Linked DNA regions of Homo sapiens: region 1 is linked to region 2. The links are contacts of gene promoters, found by promoter capture Hi-C in human tissues and cell types (Jung and others, 2019). All regions are on one chromosome and are shown on one strand. Each heading gives the region's core, a stretch centred on a gene start or on the middle of the fragment in contact. The rest is flanking DNA. Distances are from core to core; before and after follow the strand shown. Region 1 overlaps ELP3 (elongator acetyltransferase complex subunit 3). Region 2 holds the start of PBK (PDZ binding kinase).

Region 1 (7,513 bases), core at 3,374-5,873, 350 kb after region 2:
TAAGCATACCTGTTTGCAGTCTGTGTCACGTGATGTCACATCTGGAGTCTCTGCTGTTTCTTGTCATGTCCTGTCTTAAAGTGTACCTCATCATTTTTTATCATTTGCTGAGCATTTTATATGAGAATTTGCTTTCAGGAATACTTCAAGACCTAGGTGATGCTAGCTTCCTCCAAGGAAGACCTGTTTCCTTTAGCCAGGCATCTCAGAGTCGTAGTTGTCTAGGACCAAGGCTGTGGTTTATCTAGAAGATTCCTATCCCCACCACACCAATCCCTCCTCCCAATTCAGAGCCTTTCAGAATACAATCCAGAAGAGGGGGTGCTATGCTTGGGTCCCTGTCTGTGCCAGGCTCTGAATTCAGACCCATGTTGCATCTCCTTGAGCCTCCTCAAGGTACGGAAGCAACTCTGCCTCTCAGTTGCTTCCACACCTCCTAAACAGCAGGGCACTGGGGGAGTGTTATGACTGCTTCTCTGCTTCTGGTGGCCGCAAGACACTGCCCCCACGCCCCCAGTATCTCACGTGCCCTTCCTAGATCAAACACTTCTACTCCCCTCTGGAAGCTCACATTTTCTCCTTATTATTGGCCTGACAACTAAGAGCTCTTAACAGTCTCTGATACTTTCCTAGCAGAAACATTTTCAATTTTGTCTAATATTTTCATTGTCTTTGGCTGGAGCGTTATTCTTAATTTTGTCTGCCATAATCAAGCCTGAAGTCATCTGTTCACTAAGCTTAAATACTCACGACTCTTCTGCCCTGCCTCTAGCTTCCATCATTGAACCTTCTTTGTTGTTTTCCTCCAAACTCTGTATTGTAGTGCTTGTCATTTTAGAAATGGTGACTGCAATTTATCAAGTTGTTACTGAAAAGTATCCCCCTTCCCATTCTCACATTTGTAAGCTGAATCTGTTTACAAAGTTTATTATTGCCTGTTATCAGACCCTTTTCTGTGATTTATTCTTCAGTTTCTTACTAAGCCATATTGTTAACAATGGAAATAGCCACCATGTTTGTTTCATCTAATGAGTTATCAAAGGACATTGAAAAACTGGACACAGATACAGGAGGTGAGGTGATCAAGACAAATGGCAAGTTCTTTCTTTACCAGAAAAGAAGGGATGTGCTTTCCCACGAAGACTAGAGGTGCAAGACCAGAGTCAGGGGAGTTGAGTGGGCCTACCCCATCACATAGGTGCCAGGCGCATTAGAAACGCTCTGGGCCATGGGGTCAGGCAGGCTGGGTCTCAGTTACTGTTCTGCTTCCCTATAGTGTGGCCTTGAGTTATGACCCATTCTGAAACTCATCTTTCTCCTAGGACAATAATTGCAATCTTGTTACATTTTAAATAAATTAGTGCATGGAGAGGCTTTAGCAATCCAGTGCCTGGCAGGTATTTAAATCTCCCTCTAACTTTATAGTCACTTAGCTATCAAGTGGTTTTCTTTGTTTGTTTGTTTGTTTTGAGATGGAGTTAGAATCACAAGCTAGGTAGCACTTAGGTTCATTTCCTGCTCTTGATTTGTGATTTATTTTCCCTTTTAGAGGAAAGGTATACTTATTTTTAGTGTCCAAAGGCTTTACTCTGGTATTGCATTTATCCCCTTAGAACAGAAGGCTGCAGTAACTTGGAGGAACAAAGAGTTGGTTTTCAGTGAACTCAGGTACCACACAGACTGGCTTACTCTATCTCCCCACTCTTTCCCCTACAATTTCTCTCTAAAATAGAATCACAGCAGAATTTAAGTAAACATCTAGGTTTGCGGCCGGGCACAGTGGCTACACCTGTAATCCCAGCACGTTGGGAGGCTGAGGCACATGGATTGCCTGAGGTCAGGAGTTCGAGACCAGCCTGGCCAACATGTTGAAACCCTGTCTCCACTAAAAATACAAAAAATTAGCTGGGTGTGGTGGCATGCACCTGTAATCCCAGGTACTCTGGAGGCTGAGGCAGGAGAATCGTTTGAAGCTGGGCGGCAGAGGTTGCAGTGAGCCGAGATCACGCCATTGCACTCCAGCCTGGGTGACAAGAGAGAGACTTCGTCTCAAAAACAAACAAAAAAACCACATCTGGGTTTGTTCTCCACCCACCCCCCCTTTTTTTTGGCCTTTGGTTAGTCTAAGGTTGTGTGATTTGATTTCCCATTTTTACTAAAGAGCATTGAGCAGCCCAGGATGAGCGTGCTCCTGCAGCCAGAGGCCCAGGCTCCGGCATATGCATTGCCTGTGATTTTCCCCCTTTCCCGAATCCTTTGAGTTAGCAGATTAAGCCACGTGGTGCGTATCTTTTGGAGAGGGACATGGAATCAAAGCAGAGGATTTCTTTCTCATCATGAGGGGCTTGAGGACATTTGGTTCAGAAAAGGATCAGAGAGATGCTGTACCCCTGGGTCTCCTCCGGGTTGGAGATTCACAGGGAGGCCAGGGGCTCTTGGCAGCCAGCCTTGGAGCAGTAGCCAGAGGTCATCCTTGGGAAGGGGGCTTTCCCACTGAGTGCTGAATAACTCTACTCCTCTCGGCCCATCCCAGAGCAAGCAGTGTCCTCTGCCTTTAATGTAACCCCTTTCCATGGGTCTATCTATAATTGATCTAAAGTGTGTGCAGTGGAAGTCATTTTAATAACTTACATATAGTAAAGCTCGTGTACAAATAAACAGGCTTGTTTTCTTCTCCCCAAAGGGGTGGATGTCCTGGGGCAGAGGCAGAGGGGAGGCCACCACAGAAGCTGTTCACTCTAGGCACTTTGCAAGGTATTCTTTTTTCACCTAACTCATCATCATTGCTGGTTGAATGGGGAAGATAAAATATTTATCCTGCCTACAGAGTAGGGAAAAGGTCATGTAGGAAAGCTCAGGGTGTAGATGAGTGAACTTGGGAGGATAAAACAAAGCCAGTGTTTGGACTCCCCCAACTCCTGCCATTCTTTCTTGAGAGAGTCTCGCTGTGTCCCCCAGGCTGGAGTGCAGTGGCACGATCTCAGCTCACTGCAACCTCTGCCTCCTGGGTTCAAGCAATTCTCACCCCTCAGCCTCACGAGTAGCTGGGATTACAGGCACTCACCACCACACCCAGCTAACTTTTTGCATTTTTAGTAGAGACAGGGTTTTGCCATGTTGCCCAGGCTGGTCTCGAACTCCTGAGCTCAGGTGATCTACCCTCCTCAGCCTCCCAAAGTGCTACAAAACAAAGCCTGCGTTTGGACTCTCCCCACTCCTGCCGTTCTTAATGCTGGCTCTGTAGCAGGGCACCCTGAGGCCGCTGCATGGAGTGAGTTCCTGCACATTCCCCATCCCAGGGATTTGGCAGAACCCCACGCAGGCCATCGGGTGGAGCACTTGGTTCCTTGTACAGCCTGTGGGCGCCTCTCCTCTGGCGGAGGCAGAGCAGTTAGGCTGAGGGCTCGGAGACGGTCCAGGCAGCCTGCATGTCAGTCCAGGAGGGTGGCTGACGTCAGCTCTGAAGGATGATTGCTTTTTCTTGGCTGGCTAACAAAAGGAAAGTTACTATGACAGAGGACTTTCTGGGAGCCCTGCTGAGCATGGAGAGGGGATCAGAGCAGAGCAAGGCCCTCACCCAGCCTTGGTGGCTAAGTGCAGGGGTAATGCCTTTCCCAACCTGTTCTGCAGGTTGTAGAAACAGGAGGAAATTTTTCTTTCAAAAAACAAGAGGCAGAAAGAAATTTAGCTCTTTAGGTGAGCAGAGGTTAGAGTCCAGACTGACTAGAGGTGAAGTTCCCTTCCCTGGATGCCAGCACTTCTCAGAGGACCTGGAGACAGTGTTCCATCTCAGGGCTGAGCTCGCCATCTCAGGCCTGCTGCGTCTTATTGAAAATAAGGACAAGAACTTCAATATACAGCTTTCCTCCAAAAGGCCCATCGTGAGGCCTGAGTGCCCCTGCCCAAGGTGGTAATCGTTTCTAGGGCACACCCCCTGTAGAAAGGAAAAAGTAGAAGGCCCAAGGAGCCTGTAGCTCCGTGGGAATCATGATGAGAAATGCTTAGATGTACCCCAGTAAAGCAGCTCTTTTAACCAGCATGCTTAAGAAATCAGGGCACTCTTGATTGTTGAACTTTCTGGTTATCCAAGGACTGTCCAGTCCTGTGTTAGATGTAAGGAACTCTTCTCTCTCACCTCTGCAGCCATTTATGGTAGACAAATATAGGTTGATGCATATTTTTGGAAGTAAAGCACTTTGACCAACAATTACACATCTTCCATCTTAAAATTAGGCCATCATTTTCATTTGACAGAGGACATATAAAAGAGCAAAACTAAACATGTCTCCAGGAACTGAGCTGAGCAGAACCAAAAGGAAATGTTAGAGATGTTTTCTAAGTTCACGTGAGTAGAAAGCTCGAAACTCAGAAGTCTCCTGGGTGGAAGGCGGAGGTTGCAGTGAGCCAAGACCATGCCATTGCACTCCAGCCTGGGTGACAAGAGCAAAACTCCATCTCAAAAAAAAAAAAAAGAGAGAGATCTCCTGGGTGAATTGTCCCTGCTAAAGCTGAGTGATGGGTGCAGGGAGGTTCAGTGCACTGTCTTCTGCACTTTTGTGTGTTTGACATTCTCCAAGATACATTGTTTTAAGTCCATGGAAAACAGTATCTGTTTTGTAAAAGTAAAATAGAAACATAAAAAGCCAGAAGTATTTCTGAAAGATTTGGGGCAGTTTTTGTTAGATAGAGATAATAATATAAGTCAGGAAGCTGCCTCTTAATCTCTCAGCTAACAAGGTAGGAAATTTGTACCTAGGTTAAGAAGTCATCCTGCCCTTCAGCTCTTGTACATTGAATCATTCCATTACCCAACACCCAACATAGAGCCAATTTTTTTTTCAAATACATCCTCCAGGAACACATTTCTTTGTATATACACAACATAAGAATAGCTGAACAGCATATGAGAGATCTGCAAACATTTATTGCATCTTGATTATATGCCAGACACTGATGATAGAAGCCATTGACTTTAAAGAGCTGACATCCTAGGGAGGGAGACAGACCTGCGCAGTGTGATTACTAAAACAGTGGAACTCTAATTAAGGCACACAGCCAGCCTGGAGAGAGAGTGCTGTGAATTCTGGCTTCTTTGTAGATAGGGGAAGTATCTGCACAGGTCTCCTGGTGGGGGATGAGTGGGAGGGTGGCTGGGAGGGCCTTAGCAGACAGAATGGGCGGCTGCTGAGGGAAGCGCCCAGAGGCAGTGGCTGAGCCCGCGTGGTGATGCTGGGCTGGTTTGCTGATCCTGGACCTAGTCAACTGTGCCAGGAACTAAAGTTGAAGGGTCTGGGCAGGAAAGACTTTGTGGATCAGGCTAAGGAATTTGAACTTTATCTTGGGACACATCATTAGTGATTCTAAGCAGGAGAGCAGTGTGTTCAGAATTACTCCGAATTCTGATTTTAAATAGTGGCTTGACCTCATTTGTTTTTCTCTTCCTGTCCTCAAGCTTCCTTGTCAGTTATGATACTTTTAGTTAACAAGTAACAGAAAACTCAGCTCAGTGACTTATACCCAACATGGATGAACCTTGAAGACATTGTGCTAAGTGAAATAAGCCAGTTATAAAAGGACAAATATTACATGATTCCACTTACATGTGGTATCTACAGGAGTCAAATTCATGGAGACAGAAAGTAGAACGGGGGTTGTCAGGGGCTGGGAGAGGGGGAGCAAGTAGGGTTGGTGTTTAGTGGGTACAGAGTTTCAGCTTTACAAGATAAAGAGTTCTGGAGATGGATGGTGGTGATAGTTGTACCACAGTGTGAATGTATTTAGCAACACCGAGCTGTATACTTAAAAGCAAAAATATCCTCAAAATGGCTTAAACCAAATGGAAAATATTTCATAAGAAATATATAGAGAAGCTTTGGGACTGATTAATTCAGGGTTCGGCAATTTCAAAAAGGAGCCAGGTGGCTCTGCCTTCTCACTCTTCATCACCACTTCAGCCCCTTGGAAGACAACTGCCCCCGTCCGAAATTACCTTGCAAAGCAACATCCAAGAAAAGAGACCGTCCCTAAGTCCATTTTCGATTGCTTATAACAGGATACCTGAAAGGGAATTTATTTATTACAGTTTTGGAGGCTGAAAAGTCCAAGGTCAAAGGGCTGGATCTAGTGAGGGCCTTCTTGCAGGTGGGGACTTTCTGTGGAGTCCTGCGGTGGCACAGGATAGCACATGGCATCACACAGTGGTAGGGCTGCATGTGCCAGCTCAGGACCCTGTTCCTCTTCTTGTAAAACCACTAGAACTCATTATCCTGTTAGTCCATGAATAGATTAATCCTTTCATGAGGGCAGAGCCCTCACACTCTAGTCACCTCTTCATAGCCCCACCTCTCAGTAATAGGGATTAAGTTTCAACATGAGTTTCAGAGGAGACAAATACCTAACCCATAGCACTCCCTGTGTCTCTTTAAGAACAACAAAAGCTTCCAAAATCAGAGTCTTCAGCATCTTGGCATGAATGTCTAGCAGCCATTCCACATGCAGCCTGACTGGAGCCCCACTCCTGATTCCTCTTGCAAGCTCTTCCCACCATCTCCTCACTCCCAGGCAGTGGTGGCTCCTGTTTCTCCAGACTCTTCCTTTACTCAGGCTAAATACCCTGGAGTCGCCTTGGCTCCCGTCACACCCCACATCCGTTGGCAGATTCTTTTCACTCTGCCTTCCACATATGCCCAGGCTCTGGGTACTTTTCACCACTGTGACTCAGCCCGAGCCACCACCATCTCCCACCTGGATTATTGTCATCGCTTCCTACCTGATCTCCCTATTTCTGCCCTTGGTCACATATCCATTCAGTGAGCAAATATTTACCGTGTACCTCACATGTGACAGGCATCACTCTGGGTACTGGCAGCTCTACAGTGAATAAAACAAAATCCCTGCCCTCCTGGAGCCTTCATTCTGTTCTCAAAACAGCAGTCAGATCATGTCCCTCCTTTGACCAGCATCCTCTCATTCTTCCATCTCACTCAGAATAAAAGCCAGATTCCTTAGGAGACCTGCATGATGGTGCCTCCTTGTTCCTTGAGTAAGTTGAGTGCACGCCCGTCTCAGGACTTTCACATTTGTTTTTCCTGCTCCCTAGAATCCTGTCCCCCCCATGTAGCCTCAGGCCTTTCTCTTTCATTTTATTCAAGTCTCTTGATTTGGAATTTGACAGAAAGATGGGAATGAGTTGCCCTGAACAACTGGCAGTGGAGTGGCCATTTACAGAGAGGGAGCTTCCTGCGGAGGGAGCTTGCGGGGCAGGTTACCAGGAGTTGGGTTTTTGACCTGCTACACCTTCCATGCAATTTAGACATTCAGGTGGGTCATGCAGCACCTGTGGACGAATCTGAGGCTCAAGGAGAGCTCTGAGTGACAGATTTAGGGGTTGCCAGTGTATACATAGGTTTACGCTCAGTGTCACAGGAAGCGCGTGCACAGAAGAGCTGCATATTGCAGTGATTTCAGTTAGGGATACGAGGAGGAAGCAGCAAAGGAGACTAAGGAAGGGCAG
Region 2 (6,544 bases), core at 3,435-5,934:
CCTACGATGAAAACAAATTGCAAGTTACACAGCAGATATAAAGAATACAACTCTCATTCATGAAGAAAAATGCCAATAGCCAGGCGCAGTGGATCATGCCTGTAATCCCAGCACTTTGGGAGGCTGAGGTGGGTGGATCACCTGAGGTCGGTGGATCACCTGAGGTCGGGAGTTCGAGACCAGCCCGACCAATATGGAGAAACCCCGTCTCTACTAAAAATACAAAATCAGCCAGGCGTGGTGGCGCATGCGTGTAATCCCAGCTGCTTGGGAGGCTGAGGCAGGAGAATCGCTTGAACCTGGGAGGCAGAGGTTGCGGTGAGCCGAGATCGTGCCATTGCACTCCAGCCTGGGCAACAAGAGCAAAACTCCGTCTCAAAAAAAAAAAAAAGCCTATAACATTATCGTTCACGTTATCACAAACAAAATTTGAGAGCTAAAAAGGACCTCAACAAACATTTAGCCCAATTTTACTTAAAATGAGGAAACTAAAACCAAAAAGTACAATTACTTACCCCCATCATAATATTAGTGATTGGGTATTTTTGTTTTCATTATAAAGTAATATATGCACTTAGCTAAAAAAAAAATCACCTAGTACAAAAAAGTAAACAGTATGTCTCCCTGTTATACTTCCCAGGAGCAGTTGTTAACAGCTCTCTTATATCCTTTAAGGAAACTGTTCAAGCAGCATTATTCATAACAGCCAAAAGGCAGAAACAACAGAACTCTGCATCAGATGATGAATGGATAAACAAAATGTGGCATATCTATACAATGGAATATTATTCAGTCATAAAAAGGAATAAAGTGCTGATATATACAAGAATGAACCTTGAAAACATTATACTAAATGAAAGAAGCCAGACACATAAAGGCTACATATATGATGATCCTTTTTTTTTTTTTTTTTTAGATGGAGTCTCACTCTGTCGCCCAGGCTGGAGTGCAGTGGCATGATCTCGACTCACTGCAACCTCTGCCTCCCAGGTTCAAGCAATTCTCCTGCCTTAGCCTCCTGAGTAGCTGGGACTACCAGCGCCCACCACCACACCTGGCTAATTTTTATATTTTTGGTAGAGACGGTGTTTCACCATATTGGCCAGGCTGGTCACGAACTCCCGACCTTGTGATAATGCCCGCCTGGGCCTCCCAAAGTGCTGGGATTACAGGCATAAGCCACCGTGCCCGTCCAATGATCCCATTTTTAGGAAATGTCCAGAATAGGCAAATCATGGAGACAAAAATAGCTGAATAGTTACTAAGGACTGGGAGACAAAGAATGCAGAATGACTGCCAGTGGGTATGGGATTTCTTTCTGGGGTGAAGAAAAGGTTCTAAAACCAGATAATGGTTTAATATATTCATCTCTGAGTATACTAGAAACTATTGAATTTTACACTTTCAAAAGGTGGATTTTTATGATACATTAATTATCTCAATAAATGGTTATAAAAATTGTCTATGAAAATAAAATGAGGCCGGGTATGGTGGCTCACGCCTGTAATCTCAGCACTTTGGGAGGCCAAGGCAGGCGGATCAGTTGACATCAGGAGTTCAAGACCAGCCTGGCCAACATGGCGAAACCTCGTCTCTACTAAAAATACAAAAAAATTAGCCAGGTGTGGTGGCGTGTACCTGTCATTCCAGCTACTCAGGAGGCTGAGGCAGAAGAATCGCTTGAACCTGGGAGGCGGAGGTTGCAGTGAGCAGAGATCGTGCCACTGCACTCCAGCCTGGGCAAAAGAGCAAGATTCCATCTCAAAAAAAAAAAAGAACGGAAGAAAAGAAAATGTACATACCACATATATAAACAAAGCAACTCAATGTGTTTACTTCTTCGTAACATATTTAAGAATTTTTTTATTTTAAAAATTATATTTCTTTTTAAAAAATTAGGTTTCCTATTAGATTTATTTATTATAAAGCAAAACTGTTCCTACATGTCTATAAGCTCATTTGTCTATAAAAAGTTGGGAGGCAGACAGATTTGCTTAAATTTTTTATAGAGCCCTTAATAATAGCATCTTTAAAAACTGTACTAAGGGGAAGAAAATCATCTCAAAGGCCCAGCTTTAACTATTAATGACAAGCTTGTTCATCTTGTTTAAAATGTAGCTACAATCACTATTGTCTTCAGATTTACCTGTCCTGAGAACACCGAAGAGCCCCTTTACATGTGTTTGTCAAGAGTATAATAATTTTATGAAGTGACCCATTTAACTTGACGGTAGGAACAGCAGAATTTCTGAAACCAGTTTCAGAACTTTGGGAAAGGATAAACTATTTAGCAGAGTGGGTTGCAGGAGGTATTTCTACTTCGGAAATAATTTCCCCATGTCATTCTGACTCCCCTTCTTCCATCTGTGTTATCTTTCCCCATGGGATGCTGTGATGTGGCACCTCAGAGATCTTCTAAGATTTTTTTTTTTTTTTGAGACAGAGTTTTGCTCTTGTTGCCCAGGCTGGGGTGCAATGGTGCAATCTCGGCTCACTGCAACCTCTGCCTCCCAGGTTCAAGCAATTCTCCTGCCTCAGCCTCCCAAGTAGCTGGGATTATAGGCATGTGCCACCATGCCCGGCTAATTTTTTGTATTTAGTAGAGATGGGGTTTCACCATATTGGTCAGGCTGGCCTCAAACGTGACCTTAGGTGATCCACCCGCCTTGGCCTCCCAGAGTGCTGGGATTACAGGCGTGAGCCACCACATCCAGCTTCTTCTAAGATTTCTATCTACCTATGTGAAGCTACTCTTCATTCACTCAGTCAATATGCACACACTGAGCACATACAATGTGCTCTAACAGTGCACTGTTCGAGCACATACCATGTGCTCTAACAGTGCACTGTTCTACACTCTGGAAATAGAGCAGCAAACAAGACCCAAACAAGTATGAAGATAAACATATACTATTTCAGGGGAAATATATATCAGTGAAGGGAGCAGAAGGCCTTGGGAAGGGGCTTAATATTTGAGTTTAAAGTGGTCAAGAAAGGTCTCCTTGAGAAACTCATTTGAAGGAAGTGAGGGAGCAGGCCCAAGCAAGTATCTAGTGAAAGTCTTCCAGAGAGAGGACAAGAAATACAAAGACCTGAGGCAGAAATCTTCACGAAGAGGCGAGCTAGCAAGGGGGAGAATGAGACAAAGTCAGGGAGGCTGAGGGTAGGGACTGGCAAGTCAAGTAGAGCATTGTAGCCACAGGACTGTGACTTCTACTCAACTGTAGTCACAGTCAAGATTTCAGCTTGTACTGAGAAACAGAAAGCTGTTGGAGAGTTTTGTGGAGGAGTCAAATAGGTGGGTGGATACGGATCTAGAATGCAAGCTGAAGATTTAAGTTTGTGGGATGGCAGCACGCAGACGTTATTAAAGCCAAGAGACTAGGTAAGATCATCTAGGGAGTAACTGTAGAGAGAAGAGGGGTGAGCCCTAGGGCATCCAAGCATGAGAAATGAAAAACAAAGCAACCAAGGAGGTGCCAACAAAGTAGGATGCAGAAAACCCTGGCGCGTAGAGTGTCCTGGAAATCTTATGATGAGCCTTATGAGTCTCACTGCCTTTTCCCGCTCACTCTACGGAGGATTTGATATTCAGAAGCAGCACGTTTTAAAAAAGAAAACCTATCTCTAAAAACAACTAGGTTTAAACAGAAGTCGTAACATTTCATTATGTTCTCTTACGACTGAGTCCCACCTTCTACTCTAAGCTATTTGCACCTCAATGTACCATGTCCTATCCATTTCACAGTTGTCTGAGGGCCACTTTTTTCCAGACTGCACACTCAGGTTTAGGCATTAACTGCTGACAGATAGCTTTTGGCCAGTAGCCCAGACTCTGCTTCAGATTATGTTATGTATTGTATATGCATTCTTAACATTAATTGTTAAATAACCATACTAATTCTAAATCACAAGGTTCTCATGAAGATGACAGCAAAAAAAACAGTGAATATTTAGATGAAGATAAATTAGAAATGGCAGTAGGATGACCGTGAGCAGAATTTCATACTCTGTGGAATACGTAAGATATTTTTAACAATCAAGTACTGTTTAAGAGGCAGCATTAAAGTGAGCAGCGCTCAAGCAAGCTAATCTACAGATTTACCGGGTCAAACGTCAGTGACCTTTGGGCCCTAAGCCTGGGACCCTGGGACTCAACAAATACCTGGACACTACTGACAAAGCTACGACGCGGACGGGCAGCAGAAAACGGAAAATTAAAAGAATGAGAGAAAAAGTAAAGGAGAAAAGAGAAACAAAGTAGATGTAGAAACTCCAAGGGGAAGCAAAGAGAAAGTGTGGGCCGCATGACTCTCAGGTCCTCTGCATCTCACACGCTCAGCAGGGTTCGGGGGTGGAGGTCAGACTGTTTACCCCAATCCAGGGGCTCACAAGGGGCTGGCTGCCAAAATCCTTCTTTGGCTGTAACCAGATCCTCCCCTGTCACGAAAGCCCCCGCAGAGGCCTCGGCTCCGGGCTCGGCCCCCGCCAGGGCTCGCAAAAAAAAAGCTCCTCTTACCAGAGTCTCACCGCCTGGAAGGAAAGGTCGGAGGTGAAAATAAGTCGTGGCCAAGTACCTCTTCAAAATTGGTCCCGAGCGGCCCCCAGCGAGACCCTGCAGCTGCCTCTAGCACCAACACATACGCCCGGCAGCTGCCGTTGCAATTCGAACCCTCCTGGCTTTCAAAAAGTCGCGCGCTGCGCCAGCTTCGGCCCCGAGCTACGGGGCGGCGTGAAGGACACGCCCCGCCGATTCGCCGTTCCTCCTCCCTCTCCCAGGACTCCCGGTGCCCGCAGGCGCCAAAGACGAGGGAAGGAAGGAAAGGCGCGGGGAGCACAAACTTTTACAGGAACCACCAGCCCTTCCGAGGAGCACAGCCCGGTGAATAGAACACAGTTGCCTGTGCTGAAGGCTGAAGCTCTCTCCAAACGCTCACATCTGTGTTGAATGTGTCGTGATTATGACGTCAATTTTATTATAGGTTTATGAGGCCTTGAAACACTGTAAAGACAAATGCGTAGCTTAAGGAACAATCATCTTTAGCCGAGGGAAAAAAAAGATATTTAGAAATGTTGCTAACTCATGTAATTGCCACATTCAATTCAACATTCTTTAATTTATTCAACGATTATTTAGGAACATCTGCTCCCCAGGAGGGGATGGGCCGTGGGGCAGACCAGGGGCCCAGAGCTCAGGGCAGGGGGTACCGCTTGTGGGGCCGCTCATTTCTGTTTCGAGGTACACCAAGGGTTAGAAAAACCACAGTAAGCAAAGAACTTGCATCAAGATCGGGACTGGAATCCATTAATGTAGGTGACAAAGCCCCGCAACTCTGATCAGGGCTTCTCCCCAGGAAGATGTGCCCTGAGGCATCCCCCGAGGATGGCGCAGGTCCTGAGGGTCGTGGGGATCAAAGAATATGAGCCAAGACGTATAAATCACATGTTGGAGTTTGCCTTCCCCTATGTGACCACAGTTCTGGATGATGCAAAAATTTACTCAAGCCATGCTAAGAAAGCTACTGGTGTGCAATTGCAATCCAGTGTGCGCCGACCAGTTTTTTTTTACCTCTCCGCCCCAAGAGATTTTTATTAGATATTGCAAGGCAAAGAAATCAAACCCCTTCGCCTTTGATCAAGCCGTATTCAAGTCCTAGAATGCCACCCAATAGATATTGCTTAACAGCTCCAAACTATATGTTGCAGGGAAAACCCCAAAACTAGGGTACAGCCACAGAGGCCACCTGGCTTGGAGCAGGAAGGAATTCGAGAGCAGCCCCATAGAGTAAAATGAGAGCAAGTTTATTAAGAAAGTAAAGGAATAAGAGTGGCTACTCCACAGGCAGAGCAGCCTGGAGGGCTGCAGATGGGCTATTTTTACCGTTATTTCTTGATCATATGCTAGATAGAGGATGGATTATTCATGAGTTTTACAAGAAGGCCCTGGGGATTTTCTGGAACTGAGGGTTCCTCCTCCTTTTAGACCATGTAGGGTAATAAGTTCCCCGGGTTGCCATAGCATTTGTAAACCGTCATGGCACTCAGGGGGAGTGTCTTTCGGCAGCTAAATCATTATAATTAGCCTGTAATGAGCAGTGAGGATGACCAGAGGTCATCCACTAGTGGATTTCAGTCTCAATCTTGATCCGGGTTCTTTGCCTGGAGTGGTTTTTCCAACCCTGGTGTGCCAGGAAAGGGAACGCTGAGTGGCCCCCTATGGGGTGCCCTCTTGGTTTTGGTGGGTTTGGGCCACCCTCTTTACTGCATCTGTTTTATCAGTGGGGGTCTTTGTGACCTCTATCTTGTGAAATCAGTCCTGCCAAACTTCTGTCTCATACATACAGGCTTAAGTCTTTACAGAAAAAGGCATCTACGTCTGAGGGAAGAATAACAGTCCCCATGATATCAGTGGGCCAGGGGAGGTCCTCAAATGCCGGTGGGTCCTGGACCCCCGCAGGTGTCCAGACTCTTGACACCGTCTTGAGAATGGATTCAAGGATGAGTTGGAAAATAGTGAAAGTATGGAGATTTGTTGCAAAGGGAA

Evidence for each region. Contacts are between HindIII fragments. The study calls those that stand out against the background at their distance.
Region 1: a fragment that was not itself captured here is called in contact with the fragment with the promoter of PBK in region 2 in 1 of the 25 tissues and cell types used here (dorsolateral prefrontal cortex).

The regions. Positions count from the first base shown.
Region 1 is chr8:28,180,511-28,188,023 of GRCh38, forward strand. All of the region lies in intron 14 of ELP3 (elongator acetyltransferase complex subunit 3), which reads left to right. LOC105379343 (a long non-coding RNA gene) reads right to left here and starts at 2,023. Exons shown (of 2, transcript XR_949614.3): 1 at 1,926-2,023. RefSeq lists an enhancer at 4,726-5,228. The HindIII fragment of the contact is 3,059 bases long and covers 3,095-6,153 here.
Region 2 is chr8:27,833,133-27,839,676 of GRCh38, forward strand. PBK (PDZ binding kinase) reads right to left here and starts at 4,685. Exons shown (of 8, transcript NM_018492.4): 1 at 4,520-4,685; 2 at 1. It also overlaps the pseudogene LOC100130612. RefSeq lists enhancers at 4,795-4,854, 4,925-4,974. The HindIII fragment of the contact is 7,721 bases long and covers 185-6,544 here.